Linked DNA regions of Homo sapiens: region 2 is linked to region 1. The links are contacts of gene promoters, found by promoter capture Hi-C in blood cells and fetal thymus (Javierre and others, 2016). All regions are on one chromosome and are shown on one strand. Each heading gives the region's core, a stretch centred on a gene start or on the middle of the fragment in contact. The rest is flanking DNA. Distances are from core to core; before and after follow the strand shown. Region 1 holds the start of H3C11 (H3 clustered histone 11). Region 2 holds the start of H2AC14 (H2A clustered histone 14).

What was found. The method cuts DNA at HindIII sites, captures the fragments that hold promoters and counts their contacts. A CHiCAGO score of 5 or more calls a contact.
Region 2: the fragment with the promoter of H2AC14 here is called in contact with the fragment with the promoter of H3C11 in region 1 in 1 of 17 cell types (megakaryocytes); the score reaches 5.3 in megakaryocytes.

Annotation. Positions count from the first base shown.
Region 1 is chr6:27,869,217-27,875,637 of GRCh38, forward strand. It overlaps H3C11 (H3 clustered histone 11), which reads right to left and starts at 3,130. Exons shown (of 1, transcript NM_003533.3): 1 at 2,629-3,130. The coding sequence starts at 3,099. The coding sequence ends at 2,689. It overlaps H4C13 (H4 clustered histone 13), which reads right to left and starts at 4,318. Exons shown (of 1, transcript NM_003546.3): 1 at 3,932-4,318. The coding sequence starts at 4,294. The coding sequence ends at 3,983. RefSeq lists enhancers at 687-1,326, 1,327-1,964, 3,880-4,517, 3,949-3,998, 4,299-4,468 and 1 more. The HindIII fragment of the contact is 2,761 bases long and covers 627-3,387 here.
Region 2 is chr6:27,811,782-27,818,202 of GRCh38, forward strand. H2AC14 (H2A clustered histone 14) reads right to left here and starts at 2,996. Exons shown (of 1, transcript NM_021066.3): 1 at 2,521-2,996. The coding sequence starts at 2,959. The coding sequence ends at 2,573. H2BC14 (H2B clustered histone 14) reads left to right here and starts at 3,241. Exons shown (of 1, transcript NM_003521.3): 1 at 3,241-3,708. The coding sequence starts at 3,263. The coding sequence ends at 3,643. RefSeq lists enhancers at 2,630-2,779, 3,470-3,589, 3,700-3,759, 3,850-3,899. The HindIII fragment of the contact is 4,109 bases long and covers 2,670-6,421 here.

The sequences.
Region 1 (6,421 bases), core at 1,880-4,379:
GATCACTTGAATTCAGGGTGTCAAGGCTGCAGTGAGCAATGATAGCAGCACTGCACTCCAGCCAGGGCAATGGAGCAAGATCCTGTCTCGAAAAAGCAAACTAACTAAAAACTAAAGAGTGTGTGACAGAGACTATATATGGCCTTTAAACCCTAAGCTATTTATTACCTAGCCCTTTTGCTGTGTTATAAATTTCTCCACAGAGACACAGATATTGTATAGGCCTCTTACCGAACAATGCAAATTGAGAACTAAAGAAAAGGAGATCTTCATGAGCAAATGATCTAACCAAGCACTTTCCACTGTTCCAAACACAAAACTTAGAAGGTCCAGGAGAAAAAAACCCCAAAACTCCATGTGTAATGGAGCCAGGGTATAACAATAAGAGCTGACACTCATTCAGCATTTACTACCTGACAGGAAGTAATCTTAAATATGTTCTACAGGTTTCTATTAATTTGCTACATTTACAGCTATACAAGATGAGGCCCAGATAGAGAATTAATAACTTGTCAAAGGTTATACAGCTATGAAGTGGCAGCTCTAAATTTTAAACCTAGAAACATGGCCTCAGCTCTATTATGGAGGGAAAATCCTTGAAGAGGTGAGAAGAGAACTATCTTCAAAGCTTGGAAGAGGCAGTGTCAAGTTGTTCCTACACCTAGCAAACAGCCACTAAAAGAGCTCTAAGTTAATTGTGGGAAGAGGCTTCTGGCCCCATGGATCAAAAGTGTTTTTTTGTTGTTTGTTTTTCTGAATCAAATCTTAAGTTTCCAAAAACTTTATACCTGTATCCAACCCTTTGAATGTGAGGACTTTTTTGTTCATCTGTGATGGTGGATATCACAAAAATTATGCACAGACTTTTCTTTCTTTCCCTTCCTTCCTTTTTTTTTTTTTTTTTTTTTTTTGAGACAGAGTCTCACTCTGTCACCAGGACTGGAGTGCAGTAGCGTGATCTCGGCTCACTGCAACCTCAGCCTCCCAAGGAGCTGGGACTACAGGCGCCTGCCACTATGCCCAGCTAATTTTTTGTATTTTTAGTAGAGACGTGGCTTCACCATGTTGGCCAGGCTGGTCTGGAACTCCTGACCTCGTGATTCGCCCGCATCGGCCTCCCAAAATGCAAAGTGCTGGGATTACAGATGTGAGCCACTGCGCCCTTCCTTTTTCCTTCCTTCCTCCCTTCCTTCCTTCCTTCCTTTGTTTTCTTTCGTCAGCTATCTTTAGTGATCCTGTATTTTAGGTGTGGCCCAAGACAATTCTTCTTCCAACGTGGCCCAGGGAAGACAAAAGATCGGACACCGCTGCACCAGTTGCTGGGATACATGCCTCTTTGCAAGAGTGAATCCAATATGAGAAAGGAAGGCACAGATATGAGGCTGAGCTGGCTGAGAGCACTAGGGAGAAAAATTGCCTTCACATCTCTGCCAGATATCTCCTAGGTCAAGATGTGTGCTTCAAAAAGTTTAAGAGCAAAATGAGGTCATGATAGTCACATATGTAGAGCACATGAGGAAACTCTAAAACAGCTGGAAATAATGGAAAAGTTTGGTTAGAAACCAGGAAGAGCTTTAAAATACCACTTGAAGTTTAATACCCAGACTGATTCTCTCTGAAAAAAAAAAAGAAAGAAAAAATCTCATGAAAATCCAACTCCACAGTCTATGACAAGCATATGGTGAAATGACAGGAAAATATTTTTTAAGGTCCACTTAGAGCTAGAAGTTCATTTCATAGATGACAGCATGCAGTAGGTTAAAGTATCCCTCCTCAGAGGCCCACTACCTAACACATGGCTTGCTAAACATTACATTGAAACAGAACAAAAGTGTCGAGCTTTTTGTCAAAACTGTTACTTGCATGGGGTACGATGGCAACTTTGTTATGTGCATATGCTCCAAGGTGGTCAAGTTACATGGGCTATACAAGAGCTAAATAGCTTACATTGTACCAATTAAGTAACTTATCATTCATTCTTTCCTCCCTTCTGAGTCCTTATTGTCTATTGTTCCACTCTCATGTGTGTAGTTTTTAGAGCCTGTTGTTTTTTGTATTTTTGAGGCGGAGTCTCGCTCTGTAGCCCAGGCTGGAGGGCAGTGGCGCGATCTCGGCTCACTGCAACCTCTGCCTGCCAGGTTCAAGCGATCCTCCTGCCTCAGCCTCCCGAGTAGCTGGGACTACAGGCGCGTGCCACCACGGCCGGCAGTCTTTTTTTTAGTGGACAGGGGGGTTTCACCGTGTTAGCCAGGATGGTCTTGATCTCCTGACCTTGTGATCCGCCTGCCTCGGCCTCACCAGAGCCTGTGGACACTCATTGTGCTACTTGTTCCCTTCAGTAGGGGCAGGTAGATACGCAGGAGACACATTCCTCAAGGATAAAAACAGGAATACTTTTCAAAACTAAACTTCATCTGTAAAATTGACCCCATGACATGTCTTTTTTGAGTGATAATCCTTATCAGTAGGAACAGGTTCTGTATGTGAAATTGATTTAGCATACCAACAGCCTGTGACCTGACTCCTGCATTATAGTGTGTTGGGCCACTACCACGTTTTGTCCACAGCTTGTATTTAACATGGAGCTAAGACACGTCTCAAAAGCTACAGCTTCCTTTTGGTGACAATTGAGGGGCTCTGAAAAGAGCCTTTTGGGGTTGGACAGACTTCTTGGGCTGATAGGAATATTTATGCCCTCTCCCCTCGGATGCGGCGCGCAAGCTGGATGTCTTTAGGCATAATAGTGACGCGTTTGGCGTGAATGGCGCACAGGTTGGTATCCTCAAATAGCCCCACCAGGTAGGCCTCGCAAGCCTCCTGCAGCGCCATCACCGCCGAGCTCTGGAAGCGCAGATCGGTCTTAAAGTCCTGTGCGATCTCCCGTACCAAGCGCTGAAAAGGTAGCTTCCGGATTAGCAGCTCGGTCGACTTCTGGTAGCGGCGGATCTCGCGCAGGGCCACGGTGCCGGGGCGGTAGCGGTGGGGCTTCTTGACGCCACCGGTGGCCGGAGCGCTCTTGCGAGCCGCCTTGGTGGCCAGCTGCTTGCGCGGCGCTTTGCCGCCGGTGGACTTGCGAGCTGTTTGCTTTGTTCGTGCCATGGCTAAGTAGACGTACCTACTCAACACAAATGAGAGAAAAAAACTGATCATCCCGGTATTTATAGCTGCCCTCGCGTTCTGATTGGACAGTAGACTGTGCCATGCCACGTCTCACACACGGAATTGGCTCCCAGTTTAATCTGCTAGTGAAAGGGAGACATTCCGCCTCTGTTTTGGGTCAAGAAACGTAAAATGGTTTTGCTAGCTAAAGAAAAACAAAAACGGAAACAAAAAAAAATCCCCCAAAAGTCTAGGATTTTTCATGCATCAAAATCCTGTTTAAATATAAGCTTGATAAATCTAAACTTGCCTTGCACTATTTTAATTACGAGGTGTCATTACTGATTTGACAAAAAGTTAAAGAACGTAAAGGAAAAGTGAAACTAGAGTAAATTTGTAAATGGAGGCATTGAAGGGGATATGAAATTCGAGCGTTGTGGTATGCCAGTATTTCTCAAATTTAAACGTACTTAATGTTTTAGAAGTTGGCCGACTTTTTCTGTAAAGGGCGATATTAAAACATTTTGGGCGTTGCGGACCACAGTGTCATAGTTACACAGCCCTCGCATTGGTAGCGGTAAAGTAATCGATACAAGATAAATGAGACCGGCTGTTTCATTATGACTTTTGCAAAAACCAGAGAGGCGTTATAGATTTGGCCGTGTATCAGAGAAGCCGGCACTTTTAACCACTAAGTAATGCTGAAAGGGGCACCGAACCTCAAACTTCAGCGACTGCTTATGTGGAATCGCTAATTTGCCAAAACTGCCATACGTTTAAGTGTTCTTAAGAAATTAACTATCTTTAGTCTACAGCTCTTTCACAGACTTCATGGGTGGCCCTGAGAAGGGCCTTTGAGGAACCGTGTAAGTAAGTAAAACACTCAGCCGCCAAAGCCATACAGGGTGCGGCCCTGGCGCTTGAGCGCGTAAACCACGTCCATGGCTGTGACTGTCTTGCGTTTGGCGTGCTCCGTGTAGGTAACTGCATCGCGGATTACATTCTCCAAAAACACTTTAAGAACTCCGCGTGTCTCCTCGTATATAAGGCCTGAGATGCGCTTAACGCCTCCACGCCGTGCCAGGCGTCGGATGGCGGGCTTGGTGATGCCCTGAATGTTGTCGCGCAGAACTTTGCGGTGGCGCTTAGCGCCTCCTTTGCCCAGACCCTTCCCGCCTTTGCCGCGCCCAGACATGTCTTGTACTAAACAAAATGCAACACGGCAAGCCTCGCAGCAGTACTTTATATAGTAATAAATCGGACCTGATTGGGAACTCTCCACACCAGCTGCATCCGGTCGGCCGATTCACAGACCTTGCGCCCTGCCCACGACTTCAGGAAAAAATGGAAAAGGGGGTACTTAAACTCCAGTTTCTAAAAATGATGCCCAGTTAAAAATTACTCAGCTCATCTTGCCCTTCTACAGTGTTTTAGGCTGACCACCGCTGCATTCCATTGTCTGGGTCTTTGCAGCCTGTTTTTCCTGTCACCTCTTAGCATCGATTGTTCTAGTGCTTTGTGGCTGCTGGAATCAAATGGCGCCATCTCTAGAGGGGTAATCACAGTCGTTTCGGGCATTTGTGAAATAGCGTGTAGAAACTGCTTCCGTACAAACTCGAAGTGATCAGCCTATGGAGTGGCTGACTGCAAAAGACGACGCCTGATGATAGCTCCAAGGTGGGATTCCTCACCTTTCTCAAATTTGGTTCTCTATTCTTTTCCTTATATTTTACTCTTTCTGTAGCTGTCCTTTCTGTTCCTTTCTCTCCCTCGCCAACCACATTTTTGGGGCAAGAACTTTCTATTTTTTTTTCCTCATTCCACCTAGAAACACTTCAGGAAGCTGTTTGAGAAAGAAAGGTGGCTTTTACCCTGTATTTCCTTAGAATTGTGAAGGTGCCGCTTGAGCTCCCTCATGTTCCTCTTTTCTGTTGAACTAGGAAATCAGCTGTGCCCAGAAACCCTGTCTTTTACATTTACAAATAAAGTGCAGGAGGAAAAGACCGAGGATGACTTTATTCCAAGAAAAAGAGTTTCAAATGGCCGGACGCGGTGGCTCACGCCTGTAATCCCAGCCAGAAGGGAGGCCGATGCATGTGGATCACAAGGTCAGGAGTTCGAGACCAGCCTGGCTAAGATGGCGAAACCCCTTCTCTACTAAAAATAAAGAAAATTGGCCTGGCGTGGTGGAGGGCGCCCATAATCCCAGCTACTCAGGAGGTTGAGGCAAGAAAATCGCTTGAACGCAGAAGGCGGAGGTTGCAGTGAGCCAAGATCGAGCCCCTGCACTCCATGCACTCCAGCCTGGGCAACAAAGTAAGAGTCCGTCTCAAAAAAAAGTTTCAAATAAATGTTGTGTGACCTTCCTGACCTAGGCTGGCTCTGCCTTGCCCTGCCTTCCAGCTATCAGATTTCGTTTCTCAGTAATGTTTACCTTTTATATTTCAAATGTGTATGATTATTTACCTCTTTAGCAAATATCTAATTTTATTCTAAAAATCAGTCTCTGCAAGTACATTATGAACTACTCTATGATTACTGTATGTGCAAAACATTACATACTCATGTTGTAATAGTTAATCAGTTTCTCACTGAGCTAGGCTGGCCTCTTTTTCCTTTTTTTTTTTTTTTTTTTTTTTTTTTTGACAGAGTTTTGGTCTTGTCACCCCAGGCTGGAGTGCAATGGTGAGTTCTCTGCTCACTGCAATCTCCCCCTCACGGGTTCAAGCGATTCTCCGCCTCCCGGATTCAAGCGATTCTTCAGCCTTAGCCTCCTAAGTAGCTGGGATTAAAGGCACCCGCCACTACGCTCGGCTAATTTTTGTATTTTTAGTAGAGACGGGGTTTTGCCGTTTTGGCCAGGCTGGTCTCGAACTCCTGACCTCACGTGATCCGCCCACTTCGGCCTCCCAAAGTGCTGGGATTACAGGCGCGAGCCACTGCTCCCGGCCTTATTTTTTGTATTTGTAGTAGAGACGGGGTTTCAGCGTGTTAGCCTGGATGGTCCCTATCTCCTGACCTGGTGATCCACCCGCCTCGGCCACCCAAAGTGGTGGGATTACAAGCGTGAGCCATCGCGCCCGGCGATTAACCTCTTTTTTGTTATTAGTTCAGGCTGTGACCCTTATGGTCTCACAACTTCTGTACCCTACAGCATTGACATCTGTGTTTTTCAGAGGTGTAAATTTTTTTTTTTTTTTTTTTTTTTTTTTTTTGAGGCAGGCTCTTGGTCTGTCACCAAGGCTGGAGTGCGATCTTCCCACCTCAGCCTCCCCAGATCCTGGGACTACAGGTGTGAGCCACCACCCATTCCCGGCTAATT
Region 2 (6,421 bases), core at 1,746-4,245, 58 kb before region 1:
GCAGTTTTAATTCTCTATCTTGTTTCAGTTGGCTATTTATGTATCTTCAGTTATTAGAATTGGTTACATTCTTAATACACTTTTTTGGAAATTTGATATCAAGATCACTACTGCAACATTCACAATCTGCTCATCCTCATTTTCTTGTGTGTGGGTTCATGATTTCATTATTTCCACATATATGGAATTTAGAAAGATAAATAATTTATGATTAATATTTTACAAATTAAAATAATGCTTTAATACTTTTAATTGGAATCAACACCGTAAGCAAAACAAAATAGAGTTTTTCCCCTCTCAGAAATTAGCTTTCTTCTGGAAAGGAAGATACACTATTTTGGAGGGAAGCAGTGCCTCTAGGACACTTAGGGGCCCAACTGCTAAACCGATGGATATTGTTGAGTGTGTAAATAGTGCATTCCTTCTTTCTGTGCTGGGAAACTAAGAGCTAGTAATAAATCAGGAAGGGCTCACACAGAGACTGCCTGGTATGTACTAATCAATACTCTTGCTGGCTGGGTAGGGCATCCTCTCCTGGAGATATGCAGCCAAGATACTCCCAGTTAAATTTCCAGTTATAATTACATGAGGAATTATTTATTTAAGGGACAGTGAGTAGTTCTAGTTATGTGGAAATGAATACTCTATGTCTTTTCAAAACACTCCATGTACTGAATTACAATAGTCTGGTAACCATCCAACTCAGCTCATTTGTCAGGAGTTCATGACCAGCCTGACCAACATGGTAAAACCCCGTCTTTACTAAAAATACAAAAAATTTAGCCAGGTGTGGTGGCATGTGCCTGTAGTCCCAGCTACTCTGGTGGCTGAGGCAGGAGAATCGCTTGAACTCGGGAGGTGGAGGTTGCTGTGAGCCGAGATCACGCCACTGCAGTTCAGCCTGGGCAACAGAGGGAGATTCCATCTCAAAAACACAAAACAAACAAAAAATAAATAAATTTAAAAAAAAGGACATAATTCTTGTGTCTGAATTTCCTGAGATGGCAAAACTCATAAGTGGCATAACAATCCTTTTCAAGGCCCAAAATAAAAGGACCTTGATATGCCCATACAGAAATATGGACAACAGGCCGGGCGCGGTGGCTCATGCCTGTAATCCAAGCACTTTGGGAGGCCGAGGCAGGTGGATCGCTTGAGTCCAGGAGTTGGAAACCAGCCTGGGCAATGTGGCGAAACCCCATCTCTCCAAAAAATAAAATTAGCCAAACGTGGTGGCGTGTGCCTGTGGTCCCAGATACTCAGGAGGCTGCGTTGGGAGAATCGCTTGTGTCCAGAAGTTGGAGGTTGCAATGAGCCGAGATCGTACCACTGTCCTCCAGCCTGGGTGACAAAGCGAGACCCTGTCTCAAAAAAAAAAAAAAAAAAAAAAAAAGATAACATGAGGAACTGACCTCACTATTCTCAAAATAGCCTTTGGCTTTTCTCAGAAGAGATATTTTTTTCTGAGTGTAGGTATTCACCCACTAGTGCTCTTGGAATCAATAAGTATTCAGAACCAACCTTACCATCGAACATCACCAGCTTGGACTACTATGCTTGGCCATCTACTTATCCAGCAGTTACTAAGTATTTAACTCACTTACTAATTGTAAGTGTTTACAGGATACATTTGTAACATAACACCCAGGTACAAAAAGGTTAATTACATACAGAATTAAACAGAAAAATATCAGAACACATACAATGAAGTTAACTATTATTAACATGTGATTTCAGCAGTACACTAACATAAATACATGTAATTATTGGGTCACTGCCGAACATGTATATGTTTGAAAGACCCTTAATTAGAAAACTTCTAAGGCCAATTTTTTTTTATTCCAAACTCTTGTAAGTGCAAAAATTAAAAATAGAAAACAAAACATGACCAATGTATACATTGGTAAACATAAAACTGTCTGGTTTTGTTTAAATATACCCATTGAGCAGCTCCTTTCCTAGAGGCCAGGAAATAGGGCTGAGGACTCTACCCTCAGTTTTCAATCTAGAGACTGTGAAACTGTAGAGAAACACACTGTCTAGTAGCAATCCATATACTTTTTCTAGTAAGCATATTAAAAACCGAATACTATACTATATTCCTTACAGCCCAGTGAGTTTCCCAGAATCATAAATAAAACCCACCAGTACCTACTATGTAACTCCCAGTAAGAGGCTTTGACTTTTGTCAAAGTTGTGTCCCAGTAAAATGCCTTCAAGATACCACAAACTGGCCTGGCGCAGTGGCTCACGCCTGTAATCCCAGCACTTTGGGAGGCCTAGGCGGGTGGATTACCTGAGGTCGAGTCAGAGACCAGCCTGGCCACCAAGGTAAAACCCCTGAAAACACGTGTTAGCAAACGTACCTTGTTAGTATCTACATTAAGAAAAAAAAAAAAAAAAAAAACCTTGAAATTCAGGCAATGTAAACAGGTTAAAGATTAACACCGAAACATCATGAGTGTACTGTGTAGTGGTGAAGCAGCTGAAAACGGACTCGTGTCATCTTTTTATGATTGTTGAAGTGGCTCTGAAAAGAGCCTTTGTTTTTATGCGCTTTTCAACTCGGTCTTTACTTAGTCTTGTGGTGGCTCTCAGTTTTCTTTGGCAGCAGCACGGCCTGGATGTTGGGCAGGACGCCACCCTGTGCGATGGTGACTTTGCCCAGAAGCTTGTTGAGCTCCTCATCGTTGCGGATGGCCAGCTGGAGGTGACGCGGGATGATGCGAGTCTTCTTGTTGTCGCGGGCCGCGTTGCCAGCCAGCTCCAGGATCTCGGCGGTCAGGTACTCCAGCACCGCCGCCAGGTACACCGGCGCTCCAGCACCGACCCGCTCCGCATAGTTGCCTTTGCGGAGCAGGCGATGCACTCGGCCTACGGGAAACTGAAGCCCGGCCCGAGAAGAGCGGGTCTTGGCCTTGGCGCGAGCTTTGCCTCCCTGCTTACCACGCCCAGACATGGCAAAAGGTCTATTACCTTTACGGTCAAGAAAGACTGAAATGAAATTGGAAAAACGTACATTTTATAGCCTCTACTGGGCGCGAAAAGGAAGCTGTGCGATTGGCTTACGTTTTATTTTTATTTAGACCAATAGGACTCGAGTATGCAGGATACCTATTTTGATTGGGCAAAACTGGCATCTGACGTCATCCACGGATAATCACCAATCAGCACTGACCTATTCTACTCCTAATTTGCATAATAACATTTAAATAAAGAGGACGAAACAGCCCTAAGGTTGTCTTTTATTTTGTTTTCCACCATGCCTGAACCAGTCAAATCTGCTCCAGTCCCTAAAAAAGGCTCCAAGAAGGCCATTAACAAGGCTCAGAAGAAGGATGGAAAGAAGCGCAAACGCAGCCGCAAGGAGAGCTACTCTGTGTATGTGTACAAGGTGCTGAAGCAGGTCCACCCCGACACCGGCATCTCTTCCAAGGCTATGGGAATCATGAACTCCTTCGTCAACGACATCTTTGAGCGTATCGCCGGAGAAGCGTCACGCCTGGCGCATTACAACAAGCGCTCGACCATCACTTCGAGGGAGATCCAGACGGCCGTGCGCCTACTGCTACCCGGGGAATTGGCCAAGCACGCCGTGTCCGAGGGCACCAAGGCCGTCACCAAGTATACCAGCTCCAAGTGAGCCTCTCGCTGCAGTAACAGTTCCGCCGTGACCCACACCCCAAAGGCTCTTTTCAGAGCCGTCCACGTTTCTCAAGAAAGAGCCAGTTCACTGTTAAGTTTGTCTCCCATTAGGTACCCTTTGGGACTCGCTTCGTACATATAAATGTACTTGTATATGTGGGTTTTTTTTTGTTTTTTGTTGTTGTTTTTGAGGTGTAGTCTCACTTTGTTGCCCACCCTGGAGTGCAATGGCACGATCTCGGTTCACTGCAATCTCCACCTTCCGGGTTCAAGCGATTCTTCTGCCTCAGCCTCTCGAGTAGGTGGGACCACAGGCATGTGGCACCAGGCCCTGCTACTTTTTGTATTTTTAGTAGATACGGGGTTTCACCACGTTGGCCAGACTGGTATCGAACTCCTGACCTTAGGTGGTCCACTTGCCTCGGCCTCCCAGTGTTGGGATCACAGGTGTGAGCCACTGCGCCCGGCCCAAAATATTTTAAAGAGGATTATTAGCAACTATGAGTGACCGTGGCTTAGGGAAGACACAATCCCCCGAGACCATGAGAAAGTGGTTCTGAGGCAGTCAGAATGCAACTGTTTTGTACATTTTAGGGAAGCAGAAGTTATAGGTAAAGTCATAAATAAATATGTGGAGGGTTAGTCCAGGCGTGGTGGCTCACGCCTGTAATCCCAGCACTCTGGGAGTCAGAGGCGGGCGGATCACTTGAGATCAGGAGTTTGAGACTAGCCTGGCCAACGTGGTGAAACCCCGTCTGTACTAAAAATACAAAAAATTAAACGGGTGCAGTGGCACGTGCCTGTAACACCAGCTTCTCGGGAGGCTGAGGCAGGAGAATCGCTTGAACCCGGGAGGCAGAGGTTGCAGTGAACCGAGTCGTGATCGCGCCACTGCACTAACCTGGGCAACAGAGCAAGACTCTGTCTCAAAAAAAATCAGGTAAATCAAAGAAAATGAACTGGAAAAAATAATTGCTCTTAATATCACTGTGAATACCTAGTGAGTGTTCTGTAGATGTGTTACAGTTAAATTGCCAGAAATATTCTAGTTATGTTTAAATCAATTTTTAAAATTGTGAGAAAACTCAGATACCTGGAAGGATTCAAAAGGCATCTGCACTGAGATTGCTTTTCCAGAGCCTTTGAATCCTCACACTTCTTTAAAGAAACCCAACCTGAAAAATACTTTCTAACATATGTGTGATTTATGCTAGGAATTTCCAATTTAGGATTCCATTCAATAAATTATCAAAACGTTAGCAAAGACATATACATGTTAATAGATTAAGTAAGAATAATACATTCAAAGAGTGAAGCATATTTAAATAATTCCCAACTTTAACTTTAACTTTTGGTTGTCTATTGAAACTGTAGAATCCAAAGGAAAACTTCCCCTTTGTCCTCTGAAGGTTTGGTGAAAAGTCAACTCACAAAAGGCAGATTAATAGGAGAAAAGGCATACAAATTTATTAATGTGCATGGGGGAGAATCAGTGATTACTCCCTCCCCCTCCCCCCCACGCCCCATGCAATAGAATACAGATGATTACATACCCTTCTTCTCAGGGAAAAGGGAGTTGGGGAAGTGTGGATGATTTTACAGGGGTATTAAGTGATTTTTAGGGGAATTCAATAGGCTTGAATAACATAACAGCCTAGGACAAAGTCTGTTTGGCCCACAGACCAGACAATGATTTGTGGCAAAGGTTTGTCTCCGTGTGTTGACAGACTTCAGTCTTCTTGCGATATGAGTTTTCAGTTAATGAAAACTCAGAGAAGAGACCAGAGGTAATTGTTTTCTTCTTTGGCAGGTCTATACTTTAGAGAGATAAGGGAATTTCAGAGAACAACTTCATTCTCTGCTTTCAGATAGAGAAATGAGAGAGAGGAATAGGGGGAAGGTCCGAAAGACCTTGAGTACTCTTCTTCAGTTCAGTATGTCAAAGCTCCATATTTTGGGGAATCGGTTTCTGAGCCCGAACAATACAATCTCATTAGATGAAGCATCTATTCTTGATACAGGAGTATCATGTTAGAAACAAATTAAAGCTCAAAAGATTTTTTTAAAAAATTAGGCTGAGTGCGGTGGCTCATGCCTGTAATCCCAGAAATTTGGGAGGCCAAGGCAGGCAGATTACTTGAGGTGAGAAGTTTGAGACTATCCTGGCTAACATGGTGAAACCTCATCTCTACAAAAATACAAAGATTACCAGGGTGTGGTGGTATGCGCCTGTAATCCCAGCTTCTTGGGAGGCTGAGGCAGGAGAATTGCTTGAATCCAGGAGGCAGAGGTTGCAGTGCGCTGAGATCACACCACCGCACTCCAGCCTGGTGACAGAGCAAGACTACATCTAAAAGAAAAAAAAAAATTAGGAAAATACTATCCAGAAATCTTGGCAAAATTGTTTATGATTATTATTTTTGAGACAAGGTCTCACTCTGTTGCCCAGGCTGGAGTGCAGTGGCACAATCATGGCTCACTGCACCTTGGCTTCCCCAAGCTCAAACAATCCTCCCACCTCAGCCTCCTGGGTTGCTGGGACTACAGGCACAGGCCACCACCCTGGGCTAATCTTTGTATCTTTTTTGGTGGAGACAGTGTTTCACCATGTTGCCTAGGCTGTTCTCAAACTTCTGTGCTCAAGTGATCCTCCTGCCTTGGCCTTCCAAAATGTTGGAATTACAGGTGTGAGCCACTGTGCCCTGCCCCTATTTTTAATTTTTAATAGAACAAAACAGAATTTTGGGGTCGACACAATCTTTATATGTATGTACAG